4 separate regions of the Homo sapiens genome follow, and all the other regions are linked to region 1. Evidence: promoter capture Hi-C in 16 types of primary human blood cells and fetal thymus (Javierre and others, 2016). All regions are on one chromosome and are shown on one strand. The core of a region is centred on a gene start or on the middle of the fragment in contact, and the rest is flanking DNA. Distances in the headings are between cores, read along the strand shown. Region 1 holds the start of ARB2A (ARB2 cotranscriptional regulator A). Region 2 has its middle 33 kb from the start of LUCAT1. Region 3 has its middle 53 kb from the start of ARRDC3. Region 4 has its middle 110 kb from the start of ARRDC3.

The links. The method cuts DNA at HindIII sites, captures the fragments that hold promoters and counts their contacts. A CHiCAGO score of 5 or more calls a contact.
Region 2: a fragment that was not itself captured here is called in contact with the fragment with the promoter of ARB2A in region 1 in 1 of 17 cell types (non-activated CD4 T cells); the score reaches 5.4 in non-activated CD4 T cells.
Region 3: a contact is called between a fragment that was not itself captured here and the fragment with the promoter of ARB2A in region 1, in 1 of 17 cell types (total CD4 T cells). The highest score is 5.0, in total CD4 T cells.
Region 4: a fragment that was not itself captured here is called in contact with the fragment with the promoter of ARB2A in region 1 in 1 of 17 cell types (naive CD8 T cells); the score reaches 5.7 in naive CD8 T cells.

Annotation. Positions count from the first base shown.
Region 1 is chr5:94,110,242-94,113,049 of GRCh38, reverse strand. It overlaps ARB2A (ARB2 cotranscriptional regulator A), which reads left to right and starts at 1,387. Exons shown (of 11, transcript NM_032042.6): 1 at 1,387-1,539. It overlaps LOC105379087 (a long non-coding RNA gene), which reads right to left and starts at 1,348. Exons shown (of 7, transcript XR_001742441.2): 1 at 1,311-1,348; 2 at 646-725. The HindIII fragment of the contact is 15,548 bases long and covers 229-2,808 here.
Region 2 is chr5:91,280,284-91,283,091 of GRCh38, reverse strand. No RefSeq gene overlaps it. Among named protein-coding and RNA genes, the nearest start is that of LUCAT1, 33 kb to the left of the region's middle. RefSeq lists enhancers at 1,691-2,632, 2,375-2,634, 2,633-2,808. The HindIII fragment of the contact is 1,095 bases long and covers 863-1,957 here.
Region 3 is chr5:91,435,117-91,437,924 of GRCh38, reverse strand. No RefSeq gene overlaps it. Among named protein-coding and RNA genes, the nearest start is that of ARRDC3, 53 kb to the right of the region's middle. The HindIII fragment of the contact is 1,176 bases long and covers 888-2,063 here.
Region 4 is chr5:91,495,317-91,498,124 of GRCh38, reverse strand. No RefSeq gene overlaps it. Among named protein-coding and RNA genes, the nearest start is that of ARRDC3, 110 kb to the right of the region's middle. The HindIII fragment of the contact is 1,505 bases long and covers 593-2,097 here.

The DNA.
Region 1 (2,808 bases), core at 138-2,637:
ATGACTTTAACTGTTTGGAGTAGTACTGGTCAGGTATTTTGTCTGATGTTTTTCTCATGGTTAAACTGGGATTATACATTTTTGGGAGCCTTATCTTTTTAATATAATCTGTCACTGTTGCAAAAGTCCACCAAAATAAAAATGTTTCCCTCCTCTGTTCAACAATCCTTCAGCTTCCCCAATTGTCTGCAGCAGAAAATCAAATTACTCAGCATGACATAGAAAGCTTTTCAGAATCTGGCTGTTGCCTTCCTCTTCAGTATAAAGTGTCACTCTACAAACCATTTGAGTTCTTTCCGGAAATGAAGCCCTAACAGTCTTGCAATGCCCGAGATTCATTCAGGTACTCAGTTCTGGCTAACTCCAGTGGATTCTCTCACCTTTTACTGCTCCTTATCTCCCGCCACTTACTTACACCACTTTCTTCTTGTCCTATACACTTTTCTAGATTTCCCCAATCTATTATTTACCACTGTGATCATTCAGTCATTCAATAAGTATTTATTGTCTACTTTGTGGACAGGCACTGTTGTATGGTTGAGGATACATTAAAAAGACAAGATTATGTCACTACCATCAGTGAGTTTACATTTTAGGGGGCAGGGTACATTTGCAAAGTACAAACAGTGTGGAAGTGAAGTATACCTTAGAGAGTCTGAGATCTCCTCTCTGAAGAACATAACTGTTGGTTTACTTGTCAGCCACCAGACTTTCCTTCTCTTTAGCTGCCTCAGAGGAGAGGGTATCTAACTCAGCTTTGTTACCCCAGCGTCTAGTTTAGCCTAATTCATTAAATTAACAGTTTTGGACTAAATAAATGCTCTGAGAGTACTATCTAAAAATTAAAAATCAGTTGCTTCCATCCCTTTCCCCAGATTTATCCTTGAAATACCTTTCAAACCTGTTTCTGGAAAAAACATTAATATCCGTAAGATTCCCATTTGAGTCAAGTATGATAACGAGAAAACTTTTGTCATTAGGATGCTAATATTAACTTCCTATTTTACATGTCCTAATTCAAAGGTAAATTTAATCTTCCGAATCTAGACCTCCCGGTTTTTCTGGAGTTGAATGGACAGGGTAAAGTCTGACACACTCTGAGTAGCGGAGTGGGGAACTGGCTGTAAGGACATCCTTAGAATAGTTAAAATTCCGCTGGGAAAACGAGGCTTTAGAGTGGCCTCGTCCTCTACGGCTACCCAGGCAGCCTTCACAAGGAAGGGCGACCAGAGTCCGCCAGTGCATAAGAGAACTACACTTAATTCACGCGGGCCTCTTTCTCCAGTCCACCTAATACCACAGGAACCTACCCAGGGCCCGCGCCCCGCCCGTTTCCGGGTTGTCGCCGCCGCTGCCGTCAAGTGCGTAATGACGTATCAATCTCCTGAAGACCCCGGAAGTGCAACTCGAACTTGGTCGGGGCGCGGATCCCGAGAGGGAAAGTCATAACAACCGCACGAGGGAGTTCGACTGGCGAACTGGAAGGCCACGCCTCCTCCCGCCTGCCCCCTCAGCCCTGTGGCTGGGGGCAGAGCTCAGGTAGGACTGCCGTTTGCGGGGATGTGAGCTCCGGGGGCAGGCCCGGGTCGAAATCAGGAGGGGGCTGGCCTGGGTCGGTCTCAGGCGGTGGTCGCTGGCCCTGGGGACCGAGGCTGTCTGGAACCACGCTGCATTCCCTGCGGACACCTCTGACTTGTGTCTGGGCCTCCGCTGATGGGCAGGTCCCATGTTCCATTTCCACTCTCTAGGCGGGAGCGACGTGTGTGTTCCCTGGATGACTTTCCTTATGTCGGGGCGTACGGGATTCTGGGAGTCCCTGGAGACAGAGTAATGGGCCCTCCTCCGCTTTCTTGCGAGTGGAGGTATTGTGGTTGTTGTATTAATTTTTTTTTCTACAAAAAGTATTATTAACTGCCAGCGCTTTACCAGAAGTCATTCACTGCAGAGGGATTAAAGTGCAGTTATAAAATGCTCTCAAAACTTGTAACATGCATGGGCGCGGGTGGGACGTTTCTCTGGGATGCAGTATGAATTAAGTGTTGAATACTTTTGACTTTGAAATAAAGTAAGTATGTTTTGGAAGCAGTCTTCTCTTTCCCTCATCCAGGTGTTTAACATATTCTTATAGTGCTCCAGGGTCTATATCTGTTGGGCCAAGAAACTCGTTGTGTTTGGATATACTGTATTTAATGACATGCAATGTTGTTGCATTTGTCCATTTCTCCCAAATCCTCAAAAAAGCTGTAGAGGGAAAAATTCTCTGGTTTTTATCTACAAGTGCATTGTATATTTATCAAAATATCAGTGCGATTTTTTAATGTAGTACATGACATCGTTTGCATTAACGCATGCCATATACTGCATAACAAATATCTCATTGATAAGGTGTATTCTTTATCCTACAATGCGAGGGACGGTTACACTGTATACATTTAGCGAATGTAGAAACTGAGTAAGAGAGTATTTTTGGATCTGCTTCGTTAAGGCCTCAGTGACAGTGCTGGTACCAGGCTTCTTTCAGAATTTTCAACTAGGCCTTACTTCCACTTAACCAGTGAATCCTACGCTGAAAAGTTAAGGATGCTCTGGATGCTTTCAGGCTATGGCTGCTCCATATGGTAGAATAAATAGTACCAAGGCCAAGAGGGAAATATTATCTATGAAACCATGAGCATCCACTTGTTTATCCATTTAGCAAGTATTTACTGGCAACCTTCAGTGTGCCGGATAGTGTTCAGGTGATGGGAAGACAGCAGTAAACAAAATAGAAAGTCCTTTTGCTCCTGGAACTTACATTCTAGTGGATGG
Region 2 (2,808 bases), core at 161-2,660, 2.8 Mb after region 1:
GCCTTATATCTGGACAGAACCAAATTTCTGTCTCAGCTAAATAATGCATTCCTGTATGGCAAAGGGGCAATAGTACAATAGTATATCCTCTCTGCCCAGTGACTGCTATGGTACTTTGTCAAGGAGCTCTCTCCGAGGATGGGAGAAAAGCGTTCTTGCCTGGTTGTTTTGCATCACCTACCACTTTTCTGGCCAACTGATGATTGTAGGGCATTCCTTTTATTTAGATTTCCTTTATTTCTTTCATCTCTCCACTCATAATCAAAGAACATTAAGTACTTGCTCAGGTGTTTTAGACTCTTGTCTAAGGATCTTGCCCAAGGTCACTGTATTAGTCTGTTTTCACACTCTATATATAAAGAAATACTTGAGACTGAGTAATTTATAAGAAAAAAAAGAGGTTTAATTGACTCACAGTTTCACATGGCTGGGTGGGGGGCCTCAGGAAACTTACAATCATGGCAGAAAGTGAAGGGGAAGCGAGGACCTTTTTCAGAAAGTGGAACGAAAGAGAAGAATGAAGGAGGGGCTACCAAACACTTATAAAACCATCAGATCTCATGAGAACTCACTATCACGAGAACAGCATGGGGGAAACTGACTCCATGGTCCAATCCCCTCCCTCCCTCGATACATGGGGATTACAGGTCCCTCCCTTGACACGTGGGGATTACAAATCGAGATGAGATTTGGGTGGGGACACAGAGCCAAACCATATCAGTCACTGAACCACTACGTTTGTGATGTACATTCCCAAAGCTTTTATTAGTTCTAGGATCTGGACAAAGTACCTGTACTACCTCTTTGTGATCTGATCAATAGTTTAGTCAAGTTCAATAATACTGATAACACAATACAAGCTTCGTTTACTGAGAAATTTTTTGCATGGAAATGTGCTAAACCTTTTATAGGCATCATCTCATTTAATCCTGCCTGCTTTGCAAACAGGTGAAATGGTGATTATAATCTCCATTATAGGCTTAGAGAAGCTAAGTATCAAGTCCAAGTTCACACCGTCATAAGATGAATTTGGGTTTTTGAACTGAAGTCTGACTTGGTAAATGCCAAGGCAATATCCATATGGATATGCTAAGAATAATGAATCAGAATCAGGCACAGTTTTTAAAACATCAAATGATGTATGTAATTACTTAAAATCTTAAATTTTTATGCAATAATTTGACTTTTTTTTTAAGGCTAGCGCATTAAGTATACCTCCCATTACAACTAGTTCAAGTATATGAGATTCCATTTCTGGTCCATATTACTCATTTTGCTTTCTTGGGCTCTGATCCTCTCTCGTATTTTCATGTTTCCTATTTGTATTTGTTTGGGGCTTTTCTCTCCTTTACAAAATTGGGTAGTCATGCTTCTCCAGTAACCTTGGTGAGTCAGTTCAACCTCTAATTACTTCAGTCTCCTTGCCTGCAAGAAAAGCAGTCAAACTACACGAACACTCTATTGTTTTGCATCATTTCACACGTACACAGGGATAAGGAGGGAAATAATTCTCCCAATGAAGCAGAACCACCGGTAACAGCTGGCACAACTTCTAAAGACCCAGTCTGTCTTGAAAAACAGCCGCAAATTGTCCCTAAATAATAATTACCCCACCTGTATCAGGACTATCTCACTGACTAGCTGCACTTCATGACACAATACCTGCTATTAACTCTCAGCATGGATATAAACATTGCCATAATATTTTTTAAAACCAACAATGTATCATTTGCACATTAGGACAACAGAATGTTAGTTAAGGCACAGAAAACACAAAGGCATGGCTACCCTGTTCTTTGGTGACTCCATATCTAATTATTACCACACATGTCTCCAGTCTTTAGACAAATTTAGTTATTATAAGGGTGGTTGGACAAATAGCAAAGATTTGATTTTCATTAACAAAGGGCACATCAGAACCGAGTTAATCCTTCCCAGTTACCCAACATTCAAAGCTTCTAGTGCAGTCACTTTCTAGTCATTTTAGAACCCAGAGCAGTGTGACGATTTGATGCTTAAGTTTCAACACGTTTTATTAATCCATTCTTCTTGTGCTTCATTTAAAATATTGGAAACTATAAAAAGATCAGCGTGTTAATCCTCTGCCAGGAAACGGGAAAAAAAAGTTAAAAACCTAACAACAACACGAAAAGAGCAAGAGCGCTGGAATCTCAGCTTTGAGGAAACACATGGGATGAAAGCATCCGCCCAAGCTCTAACCATTTGTCACATGGGACTCTTCCCCTCGGGGGTGAATCCTGGATGTCCCCAGGATGGAGCGAGGAGGTCGTGCGTGCGGGCGAGTGTGTGACTGCAGGGGGCCTTGGCGGCGCGAGGAGGCGACGCCGCCCCCTCCCTCAGGCGCAGGGAGGGTCTTCCAGGAAGCGGCGGATCTCTGCTGACTCCGCGGCTGCGGGCCCCGGGCTGCGGCCGCCCAGGCCGGCACGTAGCGCCGAGCGTGACTCAGCGCTGACTCATCCGACTCGCTGCCAGTGGATTTCCCCCGTCAGCTGCTCGCGCTACTCCTGTCGCCGGGAGCTCGCAGGACTTCGCAGATACCGCTGCCTCCTTAGTCTTTCCTGAATAGCAGAGCAGTCCTGTCGCTTTAAACAGAGCAAGGCAGCTTTCACTGCTTTTGAATCCCGACCGAGCGGGGCACTGCCGTGCTTTGTTTTCTTTGCCTTTAAGAGTGCAATAGTCCACTAATCAAATTCTTTCATCAAAAGAGTGTTGGGACAAATCCCTGACATCGTCCTTCCACTGTGATTTGGAGATGACCTCCACCCAGGTTTCACTTCCGTTGTACCC
Region 3 (2,808 bases), core at 226-2,725, 2.7 Mb after region 1:
GAGGTTAGGTAATGTTATTATCAAGTGCTACAAATGTAAATATATACAGCTAGACATACGGCACACATACATACATATGTTTATGTTATATATTAGTATGCTTCCTAAAAAGACAAACCATACATAGCCATCTTTGGATCAGAGTACTCTGTGAAGTATCACGTACCTAGTCCTCAACATAAATGCCTGAGCTATATAACAATATTTATTAACTGTCGTTGGCTAAAGACTTACTAGGCTAGCCAACTGAACCTACAACAACTTACTAGGTAGTTGTTATGACCTGAATTGTATCCCCACCCAAAATTTATTTTTTTAAATCCCAACCCCCACTACCTCAGAATGTGACTATTTGGATATAGAGCCTTTAAAGTGGTAATTAAGGTAAAATAAGGCCATATGGGTGAGCCTTCATCCAGTATGACTGGTGTTCTTATAAGGAGAGATTACGACACAGATACATAGAGGAAAGACATGTGAAGACACCAGAGAACCATGGCCATCTACAAGGTAAGGAGAGAGGCCTTAGAAGAAACCAACCCTACTCACACCTTGATCTTGGAATTCTAGCCTCTAGAATTGTAAAGAAAATAAATTTCAATTGTTTAAGCCACCAGTCTGTGGTACCTGTAATGGCAACACTAGAAAACTATCATCATAAAGTAGATAAATTATTTTATCCTACTTCCGGATTCTTTTGAGGTTTAAGAACTGGCAGTGTGCTCCAGTGGACTTGTAATGGATATCTGTTATTTGGCCCTACACCCTCTTCACTGTATTATGGTAATAGTACCTTGCTCTTCCCATGAGCTTTTATTTAAGTCAGGATGGGTCTTCCAAACAAAAGGTGAGCACATTGGCCCTGGAGAAGACTCCCAGCCCAAGCTTGCAATCAGCCTCTGTCTTAGAATCTGAAATCTGAGTAGAGTCACATAGGACAGAAGGAACTTGAGCTGAGGCATTTGAAGGCTAGTGCCCTACAGAGACTTTCCATGACTGATCACCGTACAGATCCCTTAGGACCCTGTTTGTTGACCTTCCCAAGGCCTTGAATTTTCAACTCTCCCTCTGCTTTTAAACCTGTGGAGCATACTTCTAATTCATTCCCTTTTTTGGCCTAAACTCACTAGAGACAGTGTCAGTTCTGCAGCCAAAAACACCTTAGTAATACACATATTATTTTGTACAGCCACATTTCTCCCATGATAGTCTCCTAATAAATGAGTTAATATTCTACTTTTCGACTCCATGAGAAAAAAATATTTGAAAATGCCTTGCAAAATAAAATTCTCCATTACATCTATCCAATGTAGGTATGTAACAACACTATTTCACAGATGAGGAAGGTCAAAGAACAGATGCTAATGTATGAACAAACTTTGGCAACACATCCACCAGAACCTACAAGGAAAATTAAGGGCAAGAGAAAACAGGATATGGAAAATTTGAAATGCAGTTCGGAGTTTGTACCTGCATGCACTATGGCACACAGCTAACGTGGAGGTGGAGAGTGACTGAGTACAGGAGTTTTGCAATGATACCTTTACCCTATTGAACTATCACAACCCAAAACCAGATGGTTGCTACAGAGAGAAGCTACCTCATCACCAATATGACTTAACATCATAACTTGGTAAAAGAATTTTAAAATCGTTTTTAATAGTAATGTTTCTCTAACCCTGGGCAAGTAATATGGAAAGAAGTTCTGTCTGTGCCAAAACAGTGATTTTCCACTATGGAAATCTTATTCTGCATTTATTATTTATACCACTGTCACATTGTTAGCATCAAGTTTATAATAAATGTATTCGCTCATTCACCAATCATTCACAATTTTAAAAATCATCTAGAGCCAGATAATAGAATTAAATCACTGAGTTAACATAACCCTTTTTCTACTTAAATTTTAAAACATCAATACAGTTTTCATTTACTTTTCCATTCTCCTTCAATCTGAACAATTAAATTTCATTACTTTTTTCTCTAATATCTGGAAGATTTTTACTTGTGGTTTCTGCTTTTTTTATCGCATTGACGAACTGCTACAATAGTTTTCCAAAGCTTTATCAGCCACAATACAAACTGATTTGATCATTCATAAAACTGGCATCATTCATGCTGCCAGGTTGCTGCCTTAATTAGCAAGTAGTAGGAATGACCTTTTACACTCCAATAAAGTAAATCACCTCCCAAAATAAGTTAACTAGTGGGGTCAGCAGGGAAGCCTTATTATAATGTCCTATACCTAAGGAAGTGTGCAGGTATCCCCACTACCAGCTACAGAACTAATACTTATTTCACCCAACTACATATCTACAAATCAAAATCTCCCTTTTTCATTCCCTTTTCCCCCTCCTTCATCTCTATTTATGAATATCTCCACTTCAGTGTTCTGGATCAATCAATTTTGGTTCAACAAATTAGTTCCCAAATAGAAAGGTACAGGAAAATAAAATAGCTGTAACTCAGGAGATGCTAAAAACCTCTATGGTGCTTTTTTCATTTATGTAACAGTTAACACTGCCCCCCAAATTCCCATCACTAATAACCATAAGAGAAGGTTAAGGGCTAGTCTCTCTACAACAACTCTTAAAATACGGCAGCTCTAGAAAATTAGAACATAAATAGCCATTCACATGTTAGGGACTCATATGCTAGGAATGAAAAACTCAGCAGCAAATAGCATAGACCTAGACATTTAGCTGTGATATGATCAGTTATCAGCAGAATCACAGATTTAAAGACAGAAATGAAGAAACTAGATGGCATAAGAAGTTATAATCTGGGAGGAGATTTTTAAAAGTCGGT
Region 4 (2,808 bases), core at 96-2,595, 2.6 Mb after region 1:
ACAAGTCACATCAGCACCACCACTCTTCCATCTTATACTTTCTGCTTGCCTAAAGACTCTTGAACCAAATATCAAATTTTAAACAAAGACAGGATCTGACCCTACCTTGTATGACCCTGACTTACTCACCTCGGCCTCATCTCAGCTCTCATTTCACTAAAAACTATTTACCAAAACAGGCAGTCAATCCATAAGGCATAGGAGACCAACCTGACTTTTTAAAATATTGTGTTAAAATTTATCTTGATTTCTGAATTGTTCAATGTCTCCTTATATTTTGCATCTGAACACCTCACTCTCCTCCCCTAGTGCCAGCTCCTCTGAATTGTAACCTTCTTCTCAGGGACCTTTCCAGCAAGAGGTTAAGTAACAAGCTCGAGGAAAATGAAGCCAGCACTTTTAACTCATAGTACACCCATGGCAAGAGAAATTTTTTTCTCCAAGCATTTGGGCATAGGGTACGAGGAAGGCCAGAGTTCTTCCTTAGAACAGGACTGGTAGAAAGGAGTTCCCACTCCTCAGGGACTGCTGAGTCTGGAGCTAGGTCTCTGGTGCTACCAGCAGGCATCTTCTGCATCATTTGAAAAAAGCTTGTGTGCAGAACAAAGCCAATCAGAGACCAGCATGATAAAAGCTAGATAGAAAGAGAGAGTCCAGAGGTACTGAGACCCTTTCAGCATCCTAGTTTCCCCAACAATTCCTTCAGGCATGTGAACTAGTGGAGCTGCAAGAGCCACCATGTTTCCTTTCTGCTCAAGGTAATTTGAATTAGGTTTCTGTCACATGTTTCCAAAAGAGTGTTGATCAATTTCAGGATCCCATCTCTAAAAGTTCTTTGATGTCTATTATTATCACCCAAAAAAAAAAAACTTTTTCCTGAATTCTGTTGGCTGGTCTAACCTGAAGACCTTAACCTTCAGGATGGTAAATATTCCTACACGGAGAGCTAAGTATTGTCCCATGACAAATGGAGAAATGTTTAATAACATGACACATTTCGTATGACCTGAGATGCCTGTGGAATTAGAGCCATGCGCTGCACAACGACACTTCAGTCAATGACAGACAAGATATGACAGTGGTCTCAAAAGATTATAATACTGTATTTTTACTGTACCTTTTCTATGTTTAGATCCACAAATATTTACCATTGTATTACAATTGCCTACAGCATTCAGTACAATAACATGCTGTACAGGTTTGTAGCCTAGGAGCAATAGGCTATCCCACATAGCCTAGGTGTGTAGTAGGCTATACCATCTAGGTTTGTGTAAGTACATTGTATAAAGTGCGTGTGATGAAATCATCTAATGACACATTTCTCAAAATATATTCCCATCACTAAGCAGTGCATGACTGTACTAGAAATCCATCACAACTTTTCATTCAAAAACAGCCCCAAAAAAGTTAGGAACTAGTTGAAGTTTGTAATTCGTGTCCTAAAACTTCTTTCTAAATTCCTCTATGTATTTTCAAAACTCCCTCTTAGACATACTGTGCTTCCAACTGTTCCTTGATATGCTGGATTTCAGCAGAACTTGCAGAATGAGAAAATGACCGCAAGACATCTAGAATTCCTTCCCCAAATATCTAGGAAACTTAATAAACCTAAGAGCAGGGAAGTTCTACTTGGAGTGAACCCTATTCCAGAAAATTTATCTCAATAAAATGTCAGACACCTCACCCTACTTTTTCCAGGGAAACTGGGACTCGAAGCTAATGGGGTCACAGAGAGACTGTTCTTCCAAGGGCTCCTGGCCATTTCTGGGTTCTCTGAGTAGCTAATTCCTTGAGCCTACACAGATGACAGGACATTCAGATTCTAACTGTGAGCAGAAATGTATAGAAGATGAATCCTGATTTTTTTAACTTATCATAAATAAGATTGCTTTTAATCACTCAATAAATCATCTTACATAGCTAGAAATCTATAAACTATTATTTTTAAATGCCTAAATTTTGTCTAAAAAGAGGGTGTGGTTTTGTATTGTCACTTGTAGATCACAGCAAGACAGGGTCCAGAGGGTTTACCCCGTCCTCAGCACTAAGATAAGCCGTAAAGGGACTTTATAAGACACAGGTTACCCTTTAGAAGCTTAGAGCAAATAAATGTTTAAGGCAGAGGCTGAAAACATGGGGCATAGTCTATAGAAACTCTAAGTGAGGTGGGAGGGCTGCTGTGTGTAGGTTGTACCCTGCTGGGGTGGTGCTGAAATCTATCCTTTATCTTCTCACCAAACCATGAGTCCTGGAACCACTTTCTAATTGCTCCACCCAGTGGGGGCTCCCTTTTGCAACTCCTCCAGGAAGAAGCAGAATGAATTACAGGACTCCCTAGAGGACAACAGATCCTGGATTTGAAGTTTCTGCTCTCAATAGTACAACCAAAGCAAGTGGGTAGAACCATGGGGCTTTATGTCCAAATGAGCACTACTCAGGATTCCAGTTTTGAATGAAGTAGCAAAGAATAGCAAATAACTTTGATAACAAAATGAGTTGATTTCTGATAATAAAATGAAACTGATAACTAAGTCATTTGCGACTGGTGCAAAAATACCTTTCCACCACATCCTAATTCCTAGAACCTATGTTAAATTACATAGCAAAAAGTTTGTTAATCAACTGACCTTAAAATAGGGAGATCAGTCTGGGTTATCCAGGTGAATCCAATGCAATTACAAGGGTCCTTACAAGTGGAAAAGGTACACAAAAGAAGAGGGTGGAGTGAGAAGGACTCAGCCCACTCTTGCAGGCTTTGAAGATAGGAAGGAGGCCAGGGCATCCCCTAGCTGAAGACAGGACTCAGTA